2 separate regions of the Homo sapiens genome follow, and region 1 is linked to region 2. Evidence: promoter capture Hi-C in 16 types of primary human blood cells and fetal thymus (Javierre and others, 2016). All regions are on one chromosome and are shown on one strand. Each heading gives the region's core, a stretch centred on a gene start or on the middle of the fragment in contact. The rest is flanking DNA. Distances are from core to core; before and after follow the strand shown.

Evidence for each region. Contacts are between HindIII fragments. The CHiCAGO score rates a contact against its expected background, and 5 or more counts as called.
Region 1: a fragment that was not itself captured here is called in contact with the fragment with the promoter of RAB7A in region 2 in 1 of 17 cell types (activated CD4 T cells); the score reaches 5.9 in activated CD4 T cells.

Annotation. Positions count from the first base shown.
Region 1 is chr3:129,247,193-129,252,237 of GRCh38, forward strand. COPG1 (coat protein complex I subunit gamma 1) reads left to right here and starts at 2,414. Exons shown (of 24, transcript NM_016128.4): 1 at 2,414-2,554; 2 at 3,490-3,542. The coding sequence starts at 2,518. The HindIII fragment of the contact is 5,392 bases long and covers 1-4,960 here.
Region 2 is chr3:128,723,221-128,728,478 of GRCh38, forward strand. RAB7A (RAB7A, member RAS oncogene family) reads left to right here and starts at 2,963. Exons shown (of 6, transcript NM_004637.6): 1 at 2,963-3,139. RefSeq lists enhancers at 2,687-2,816, 2,846-3,830 and a silencer at 3,097-3,386. The HindIII fragment of the contact is 8,952 bases long and covers 1-4,169 here.

The sequences.
Region 1 (5,045 bases), core at 1,015-3,514, 520 kb after region 2:
TATATATGCATGTGTGTGTGTGTGTGTGTGTGTGTGTATATATATATATATGTATATACACTTTTTTTTTTTGAGACAGAGTCTCGCCCGTCACCCAGGCTGGAGTGCAATGGCACGATCTTGGCTCAGGGCAACCTCCACCTCCTGAGCAATTCTCCTGCCTCAGCCTCCCGAGTAGCTGGGATTACAGGCATCTGCCACCATGCCCAGTGAATTTTTATATTTTTAGTAGAGACGGGGTTTCACCATGTTGGTCAGGTTGGTCTCAAACTCTTGACCTCAGGTGATTCACCCTCCTCAGCCTCCCAAGTGCTGGAGGCGTGAGCCACCTCGCCTGGCCACCCCTATGTATTTTTTGAGACAGGGTCTTGCTCTGTTGCCCACGCTGGAAGTACAGAGGCATGATCATGGCTCACTGCAGCCTTGACCTCCCAGGCTTAAGCAATCCTCCCATCTCAGACTCCTGGAGTAGCTGAGACAAGATAAAAATCAGTTTAGTCCTCAGATGTACCATAACTTCCTTAATCATCCCTTTATTGATAGACATTTAGGGTGTTTACAATTATTTTGCTGCAAACTGCTGCAGCAGGCAACTTCATTTTCTTTTTTCTTTTTTTTGAGACAGTTTCGCTTTTGTTGCCCAGACTCCAGGCTGGAGTGCAACGGCGTGATCTCAGCTCACTGCAGCCTCCGCCTCCCAGGTTCAAACGATTCTCCTGCCTCAGCCTCCCGAGTAGCTGGGATTACAGGTATGCACCACCACGCCAGGCTAATTTTTTTTTTTTTTGTATTTAGTAGAGATGGGGTTTCACCATGTTGGTCAGGCTGCTCTCAAACTCCTGACCTCAGGTGATCCACCTGCCTCAGCCTTCCAAAGTGCTGGGATTACAGGCTTGAGACACTGCGCCCGGCCTCATTTTCTTCTTTTGAACAATTTCCTCCTGATTAGGGGTGGGGTTACCGATCAGACATTTTGAACATCTTTCTGACTCTTGACAATTTTGCATGTCACAAGATCTGTTGTCCTTGGCCCTAGCCTCTGCAAAGCCAGACCCTAAGGGCTGGCCCCTCTGACATCTCCCTTCCTCCAGCTTTGCGGTCACCCTTTTCACCTGGGGCCTCTGCCTCAGCCTCCTGCCTCTCCTCTCCACAGCCCACTCCTTCTCCTGCCCACAGGCCTGCGGGCTTCCCCTCCCCAGGCAAGCTGGGGCCGTGTCGCAGCGCTTGGCCATCACGACTTTGCCATTGCCAATGCAATCTGGCTCACTGGCATGCACTGTGCTTACCTTAGCCTCAGGGTGTCCTGCATAGGTCCCCAGGAAGATAAACCCTGGGTGATGTGTCATTTTCCCCTTTCCGTTCCTTCCCACGCCCTTCCCCCCACCTCCCCGCGTAGGCAGCGCATCTAGTTGGCACTCCATAAATATCCAAAGTATTTACAAAATAACGTAGAAGTTCTATGCTGTTTAGTTAGATCTCTTAAGGTTGATAATGTACAAGGCAATTTGCATCAGGAGCAGACGAGATAGGGCCCGGCAGATATAAATTAAAAATGCAATTGCACGCATTCATTCAACGAGAACTCACTGAGCAACTACTATGTGCCAACATTATCCACTGCAGTGAATAAAAGACAAACAAACAAGCAAATAACAAAAAAAAAAACAAAAGAGCAAGAAAGTGGCCGGGTGCAGTGGCTCACCGCTGTAATCCCAGCACTTTGGAAGGTCGAGAAAGGAGGATCGCTTGAGGCCACGAGTTCAAGACCAGACTGGGCAACATCATAGTGAGACCTCGTCTCTACAAAAATTAAAAAATTAGTCGGGGGTGGTGCGCCCAGCTCTACTCGGGAGGCTGAGGTGGGAGGATCGCTTGAGCCCAGGAACTGTAGGCTGCAGTGAGCCAGGATCGCACAACTGCACCACAGCCTGGGCAGCAGAACGAGAAATAAATAAACAAATAAAAGCCAGAAAGTAAAAATAAAGTGTTAGATGGCGATTCGAGCTGAGGAGGAAATCAGGCAGGGGAAAGAATCTGAAAGCGAGGAGTGAGTGGCTGGCAAGGCTCCTTCGGAAGGTGGCAATAACAGTCATAGACCGGTCACATCAATTGGGTGTTTACTGCGGGCCAGTGTGTGCCACCAACCTCACACCCGAAAGCCACAAAGACTCACGCCACAACGCAACGAGGCAGGGGCTCCTCCTCCTCCCTTGGTATACGGAAAGAAGCGTAGGGAGCAGAGTTGGGATGCTAGTCAGTACCCCCCTGCACCTAGCCCTTGCCCCTCCGTCTGGCTTTCCCCACTCCCGCTCCGGCGGAGCTAAGGTTAACATTAGACGAGGCTGTGGCTACCGGAAAGAGCGCAGGCGCAGAGCGCGGAATGCGCCTGCGCAGAGCGCTGGGCGACGTGGCCAGTCGGGGCCCGGAAGTGGTCCCTGTAGAACCACTGTGGCACCGCTACTCCGTGCCGCGCCCGTCGAGCATTGCGTTGCTGCATTGCGCCCCACCGACTCCACTATGTTGAAGAAATTCGACAAGAAGGATGAGGAGTCAGGTGAGGGGGCCAGGCCTGGGTCTGAGGGAGGCCGGACCCCCACCCGCCGAGCTTTCCTTCTGGTTCTCTGTCCTGACCCGGAGGCTGAGGCCCAGTGAGGGGCAGGGGCTTGTGCCAGGGTCCACAGCTAGTCAGTGGCAGGCCTCGGAGAGCCCGAGCATGCGCGGCTGTCTCACTCTTGTAAGCTCGGACTGCAATTTTCTGGGTGACCTTGGGCGCGACAAACACCCCCCCCCCCAGGCCTCAATTTACCCATCTGTCAAAGGAGGGGACCATGCCGAATGTTCTCTTGTTACTTTCTTCGTCCAACCTCTTGGGATTCGCTGGGGCTACGTTGGTGCTGGCCAAACTGGGGTGTAACCTGCGGAGCCAGCGTCCTGTGACTGGGAACTCTGACCCCATCATTCATTTATTCAGCAAAGTATATTGAGCAGTTACTGTATGCCAGGTACTGTACGGTGTCCTGGATACTGCAACAGAGCAAGTGGGACACTCAGTGCCTGAGCTAGGAATATTAGAATGGTTGCACCCACGATGGAGGAGGCAGACATCAACCAGATAATCACACGTGTAATTATTTGCAAATGTGTCATCTGCTATGAAGGAACTAGTTACAACGAGATGGTGGTCCCTGGCACATAGGGACTTAGTTAATTACAAGTTATATAAATGAACACAAGACATGGCACCATGAGAAGCACAGGACTGTACCAGGGCTGCTGGGAGATTGTGAGTGGTTTGGGGTAGAGTGGAGCCCACCTGCTTGCAGGAGACTAGTAGGATCCCTAGACAGATTGTAGAGGCTTGATTGCCATTCCTGAGGAGTTTGAACTTTACTAGATTTCCTAGGAAGGGACATCTTCCCTTTACCTATGTCTGGGAGAGTTTTGAAGTTCAGAGTCACAACCTACCTTCTCCATTGTCCTTGACCGTAGGTGGAGGCTCCAACCCATTCCAGCACCTTGAGAAGAGTGCGGTACTCCAGGAGGCAAGTGACATTTGCTCCCCTCTAGCTTCCATCATAAATATTCACCACCAATGCAACTGAAATACCAACACATTCAAAGTGTTGTTTTAAAGAGCAACACGGGAGAAAACTTGTGCCTGGAAGTTTTCTGGAAGACAGGAAAACTTTGTTTCTGGAGAGAGTTAGTTATGCTTACTTCTTTTTTTTTTTTTTTTTTTTTTTTTTTCTGAGACAGAGTCTTGCTCTGTCGCTCAGGCTGGAGTGCAGTGGCGTGATCTCGGCTCACTGCAAGCTCCGCCTTCCAGGTTCACGCCATTCTCCTGCCTCAGCCTCCCAAGTAGCTGGGACTACAGACGCCCGCCACCACACCCGGCTAATTTTTTGTATTTTTAGTAGAGACGGGGTTTCACCGCGTTAGCCAGGACGGTCTTGATCTCCTGACCTCGTGATCCACCCGCCTCGGCCTCCCAAAGTGCTGGGATTACAGGCTTGAGCCACCGCGCCTGGCCTCTCTATTTAAACATTTAAAAAATTTCTCTATTTAAAGTTAATTCCAAAGCTAAGGAAACTGGTTTAAAACTATCACCTAAGCTAGACTGTGGCCATTATGCAGGTAGAGATTTTGCATGACTTGTTTATTTTTATTATATATATTTTTTATATATATATATATATGTATTTTTTTTTAGAAGGCGTCTCACTCTGTTGCTCAGGCTGGAGTGCAGTGGCACGATCTCGGCTCAACTGCAACCTCTGCCTCCTGGGTTCAAGCAATTTTTCTGTCTCAGCCTCCCAAGTAGCCGGGACTACAGGCGCACGCCACTATGCCTGGCTGATTTTTATATTTTTAGTAGAGATGAGGTTTCACGATGTTGGCCAGGCAGGAGAATGGTGTGAATCCTGACCTCTTGATCCTCCCGCCTCGGCCTCCCAAAGTGCTGGGATTATAAGCGTGAGCCACCGCGCCCGGCCACTTCTCTTTTTTTTTTTGAGATGGAGACTTGCTGGTGTCAGCCTGGGGTGGAGTGCAATGGCATGATCTTGGCTTGCTGCAACCTCCGCCTCCTGGGTTCCAGCAATTCTCCTGCCTCGGCCTCCCGAGTAGCTGAGATTACAGGTGCCCACCACCATGCCTGGCTAAGTTTTGTATTTTTAGTACAGACGGGGTTTCACCATGTTGGCCAGGCTGGTCTCGAACTGACCTCAGGTGATCCACCCGCCTCGGCCTCCCAAAGTGCTAGGATTACAGGTGTGAGCTACTGCGTCCAGCCGCTTCTTTCTTTATTGTTGTCGTTCATTGTTTCTGTTTCCAGTTAGCAGATGGTTGCTAAGTATCTGCTAGTCAATAGGTTAGCACATCCCTAACTAATATTTACACGAGAGTCTAAGAATAATTAGTAGTTGATTAAAGAAAAACAAACCCTTTCCTTATGAAAATAAGCTTGTTGCATACCCAGAAAGCCCTGTTTAGACAAGTCAGTTTACCCTGAGACTTCTCAGACATTGAATATACTTGAAGGGAAA
Region 2 (5,258 bases), core at 1,713-4,212:
AGAGACTGGGACAATTCAGACAAGCCAATTCACCTAAAGGGCACATCTTTGGGATGTGGGAGGAAACCAGAGGAACCAAGGAAAACTCAGACATGGGGAAAGAGTGTAAACTACACAGACAGGGGCCCCAGCCAGGAATCAATTTTTTCTCATCAATGTTATAATTGAAATGATGTTACTGGAGGCCCTGCTCTACTTAACTCCCCCAAGAACCCTAAAAGTCTCAATCCCAATACATCACTGGCTCATAATGGATCTTGCCATGTAAATTGGGTCCAGATGTGGATGAGGTTCCTCAGATATAATTCCTTAAGAACGGCTCTGAGCACTGTTCCTCTGAAGGCCTGTGAGCTAGAGATGTTATCTGCTGTCCACGGACCCAGCATACAGAGTTGGCAAGAAGAAGATAAGCATAGTAGACACTTTTGTTCAAAAGGGGAAAAAACAGGAGCGACAGCTGCCACTGGGTCATAGTAATTCTGAAATCAGCGAGGCACGTGATGCCAGTTCCTTGATTCGAGTCCCCTCCTGCTCCTTGGGAATGATTATCTGCAGCTCCTGGCTCTATCCTCTTGGCTCATGGGTTTCTTCTAAGTTGTCCTTTCTTTCCCATAGGAAATAGTCCATGTTTGCATCTGAATAGCCTTCTCAGAAGGCTTCTTAGAAGGCTGGGGCCCACATGTCCCATTTTATTTTTGTGCTCTGCCTTTTCTGGTATAATTGTCCCTTGCTATTTGTGGTGGATTGGTTCTAGGACTCAGATGCTCAAATCCTGCAGTCAGCCCTGCCAAACCTGGGGATGAGGACTACTGCATTCCCAGTTGCTACTTTACCTTCAAACCTAGCATTTTGATTGGCTGCCTAACGGGGTGGAATTATCATAACTCTTGGCCTTTGAAACTATTTTCAGTTTTCATTCCCCTGAATACTCTGCAAATTGTACACATTGAGCACCTACTGTACCCCAACACTGTTTCAAGAATCAGGGATATCGCAGTGAATGAGACAGACAAAAATAGCTGCCTTGTGGAGCTGCCATTCTAGTGGGGAAGACAGACAATATGCAAATAAGTGAGTAGTATAAGAGGAAAAACTTTGGGAGGCTGAGTCGGGAGGATTACTTGACACCATTACTTGACACCAGGAGTTCAAGACTGCCTGGGTAACATAGTGAAAACTTCTCTTTACAAAAAAAAAAAAAAAATTAGCCAGCCATAGTGGTGCACGCCTGTGGTCTCAGCTACTCAGGAGGCTGAGACAGGAGGATCACTTGAGCCCAGAAGTTCAAGGCTGCAGTAAGCCCTGATTATGCCACTGCACTCCAGCATGGGCAACAGAGCAAGAACTTTTCTCAAAAAAAAAAAAAAGAAAAAGAAAATAAAAAAGAAAAAACAGAGGAGAAAAGCAGTAGGGAGATGTCAATTTTTGTGTTTGTATTGTGGTGACAGGGAGAGGGACTTCAGTTTTAAATAGGGAAGGCTATTTCACTGAAAAGGTTACTTTAAAGTCAAGACCAGAGGAAAGTGAGGGAGTGGCCAAGCAGATACCTGGAGGAAGAGCTTTCCAGGTAGAGAGAAGTACAACTGCAGAGGTCTGATGTAGATGTGTGCCTTCTCTTTTCTTTTTTGTTTATCTTTTGGAAGAGACAGTCTTGTTATGTTGCCCAAGCTGGTCTTGAACTCCTGGGCACATGCAAAGTGAAAGCAGAGAAAGAGTGGACTTACCCCAGAGGCGGATGGTTCTGCAGTGTGCAAGGCCATTTCAGAATACACATAGAGAAAACAGGAGAATAGGTGGTGAGGGTTTTGGGGAAAGAGCCAATTTTGGTTGAAAAAGTAGGGGAAACCCCAGACATTGTACCATCTCAGGGTTGAGACTGCTTGCCTAGCTTTTGAGATTTTTTTTTTCCCCAGACCCCTCAACTCCTGAGATCTTATCGGGAAGCTGCTGATCACCAGTTTTAGGTGTTTTTATCTATTGGGAGACTGCCTTTCTCTGGTCTGGCTGCAACCAATTATTATTTTAGAGAGACAGCTTAACCTGACAACCACGTCATGGTTGCCTCACATTGCTGGTCGGGGAGTGGCCCCTCTCCTGCCCTGCTCAGGTCTGACTACTTACTGTAACAATTGCAAGGTTTTTGGATGGAACAATTGAAAGAATGGAGCTTGCATGAACCAAAATAAGAAAAGACTATGAGAGGGCATTGTTGAAGATGGAGGCAAAAATTCTGAGTGGATCCTGATGTGTTCGGATGGGGCTGGTGCTTGGGAGGCTGCTCTGTGCTTACAAGAAGAGTTCTACCCGGTCCATCTTTATCACATCTTCTCTAATACTAAGTTCAGAGAGGCTTTAGCTCATTTTCCATTTTCTTGGGCTGTCTCCTCTGCCAGACAAAGTGCCTATTTCTCCTGTCTCTATCACCGAGCCACACAATTGCTGTAGTCATTTGCAGTCTACTAGAACGATAACACATATTGGCATCAGACAGATCTTGGTTCAAAACCTCGCTCCACCAGTTTCTGTGTTGAGCTAGACCAAGTGACATGATATACTGAGTCTCAGTTCCTTATTTGTAAAATGGTGATAATAATTTTTGGTTAAGTAATTAAAGTAAGGATAAATGATGCCTTTCGAAGAAGGACACAACTGGAATGGCCAGTTTACCCCTTGTCCCCTCTTCGGTGGCATTATTTATTCTGGAGTAAGGAGGGATGGCTGAGGGAATCTGTCTGTGGGTCCAACATGGCGCCGTCCTGCTCCTTGTATGAGCCTCAAAGATGGGGACAACCATTTGGGGGCAGACATGTTTGTAGCACGAGATCCAGGCTCAGTCCCGAGGCAGCCGGAACGTGACGCAAGGTTGAGGCGGGGCTCCTCCCCCGCACCCTGGCGTCGAGCGTCTCGTGACAGGTACTTCCGCTCGGGGCGGCGGCGGTGGCGGAAGTGGGAGCGGGCCTGGAGTCTTGGCCATAAAGCCTGAGGCGGCGGCAGCGGCGGAGTTGGCGGCTTGGAGAGCTCGGGAGAGTTCCCTGGAACCAGAACTTGGACCTTCTCGCTTCTGTCCTCCGTTTAGTCTCCTCCTCGGCGGGAGCCCTCGCGACGCGCCCGGCCCGGAGCCCCCAGCGCAGCGGCCGCGGTAAGCAGCGGGCCCAGCCCGGCCGGCGGCCTGGCCCCATCCCCCCCCTCAGCCCCTCGGTCGCCAGGGCCTCGCGTCCTCCCTGTCCTCCTGGGCAGGCTCCAGTCCCAGCCCTGGCCACGCGGGCACACCCGGCATCGCTCAGGCCCCCGGAGCAGGCCAAGACCCCACCCGGCTTGGAGAGGTCGGAGGTCGTCGGGCGTGACCTCTGGCCGGGTTGCCCGCCCCGGCCACCCGTCTCGGACGCTCTGTTTACTGTTGGCCTGGATCTCAGAGACCCGAGAGGGTTCCTTGACTTGGGCGGCCCTGCGCCGCGGCAGGACGCGCTGGCCAGTGGAGTTCCTTAGCGCGGCGAGCAGGAGGGTGTCAGAGCCCACGCCGCCCGCCGCCGTGCCCACCCGGCGGGCATGGGTCACAGGCGCTGGGGGCCGAGCCGCGTTCCCATCCGGTTCTTCAGTTGAACAGCCTGACCCTGTTAGTGGGAGTTCCCTGACGGCAACTGAGTCAAGGCAGTGAGTCAGGTCACGTGCGCTGGGCTCGCCTCGACACTTGTGTACATTGAGGCGCCTCTGGCGCTGGGAGACAGGGAGCTTTTTGTCCTAGGCATGTTACGGTAAATCCTGAGAGAAGTTTTTCAACTTAATCGAGGAAAGATGGTAGTTGGATGTAGAGTTGTGTTTCCATTCCGACCGTGTTTGGGGCCTCTTTCTGCATTCATTTTAGGCTTGATACCTAATGGGGTCATAAGGGGAATATTGAGAATATTGACAGCAAATATTTGAGCGTTTATTGTATGCTAGGCAGCGTGGCAAGACCTTTTAACAGATCATTATGTTTAGTTCTTTGAACAACCCTCTGAAGTACCACTGTTGTGCCCACTTAACACAGTGGGAAGTTGAACAGAGAGGCTAAGCCATTTGGCCAAGGTCACACAGCTAATAAGTTACGAAGCAGAGATGCAAGCCCAGGCAGTCAGACTCCAGAGCACTGTATTAAATTTCTAGGTTGTACTGCTTTCACGTACCCCTGAAGCTTGCTGGTTTATCTTTTGCTACCTGGTATCTGTACCTCAGTGCCTCCCACCACCTCCTTTCTTTCTATTGATGTCATTTGAAAGTCTTTCTGGTAGCATCAGTTCTCCCTTAAAGCCATAAGAAATGCCGTTTGCGACTTATCACACATATTGTGGTGTAGTGTCACCGAATTAGGAGCTCTTGAATACCGGCAGGGTACTTAACTGAGGTTTGAAAAATTTTGCAGGTAGGCCTGGCAAACCTGCCTAGTGAACCTTTCTTACAACCTTAGTTGATGGCTGTCCAGCCGGCTGGTTCTTCCCTATTCAAAATACTGCATCTTTGGTTTCCTAAAGAACGGACTCTTGTCTCTTTCTTGTGACTTAAGCAGCTGATGAAGCACATGATTTCTCATCCATGGATGAATAAAGTCTCCTCTTAGTGTGTTTCTCTCTTCAAACTTGGGAAGGTTTGTTCAGATTTGAGTTTAAGGACTGGAAGGTGAGTTAGGAGTACTTCTTCTGAAGAAGGGACCGGCTAAGTTAAAGCTTAGCGTTCACAATCCTGTTGTATTCATATTTGTCTTTTTTTTTTTTAACTTTGCTACCTAGCCTAAAATATTTAAGTGAGTAATAAGTACTGTGGCTTTATATAATGTTTGAGTTTAGAGTAATGATAGGCACCTTTTTATTCATTCATTAAGTATTTTGAGTATCCATTGAGTATCAGCAATGTATCAGGCATTGTGGGACATTGACTCAGGGAGATAGGCGTGGTTCCTGTCCTCAAGGAATTTTTAAAAGGTGAATGATCTTGGCCAGAAATTCTGTTGTGGAATAATTTGGCGGTAGAACTTGAGGCTTTTTGGAAAGAGTTATTTCTCATCTCTGCTGGTGAATCAGTAGTAACCCAAAGGATGGTGTTCTTCTGGCTAACTTTAAGGCTTTGTTAATTTTAACAACAGCATTTGTATGGTTTGCTCTTCAGAGAGTGTAGAAGATAATATTACAGTTTCTAATTAATCACATCTTTTAAAGAGTAACCTTCAACACTCAACTTGTTTCTCCTTTTGCTCTAGTGGCATTTATTTTATTTTATTTATATTT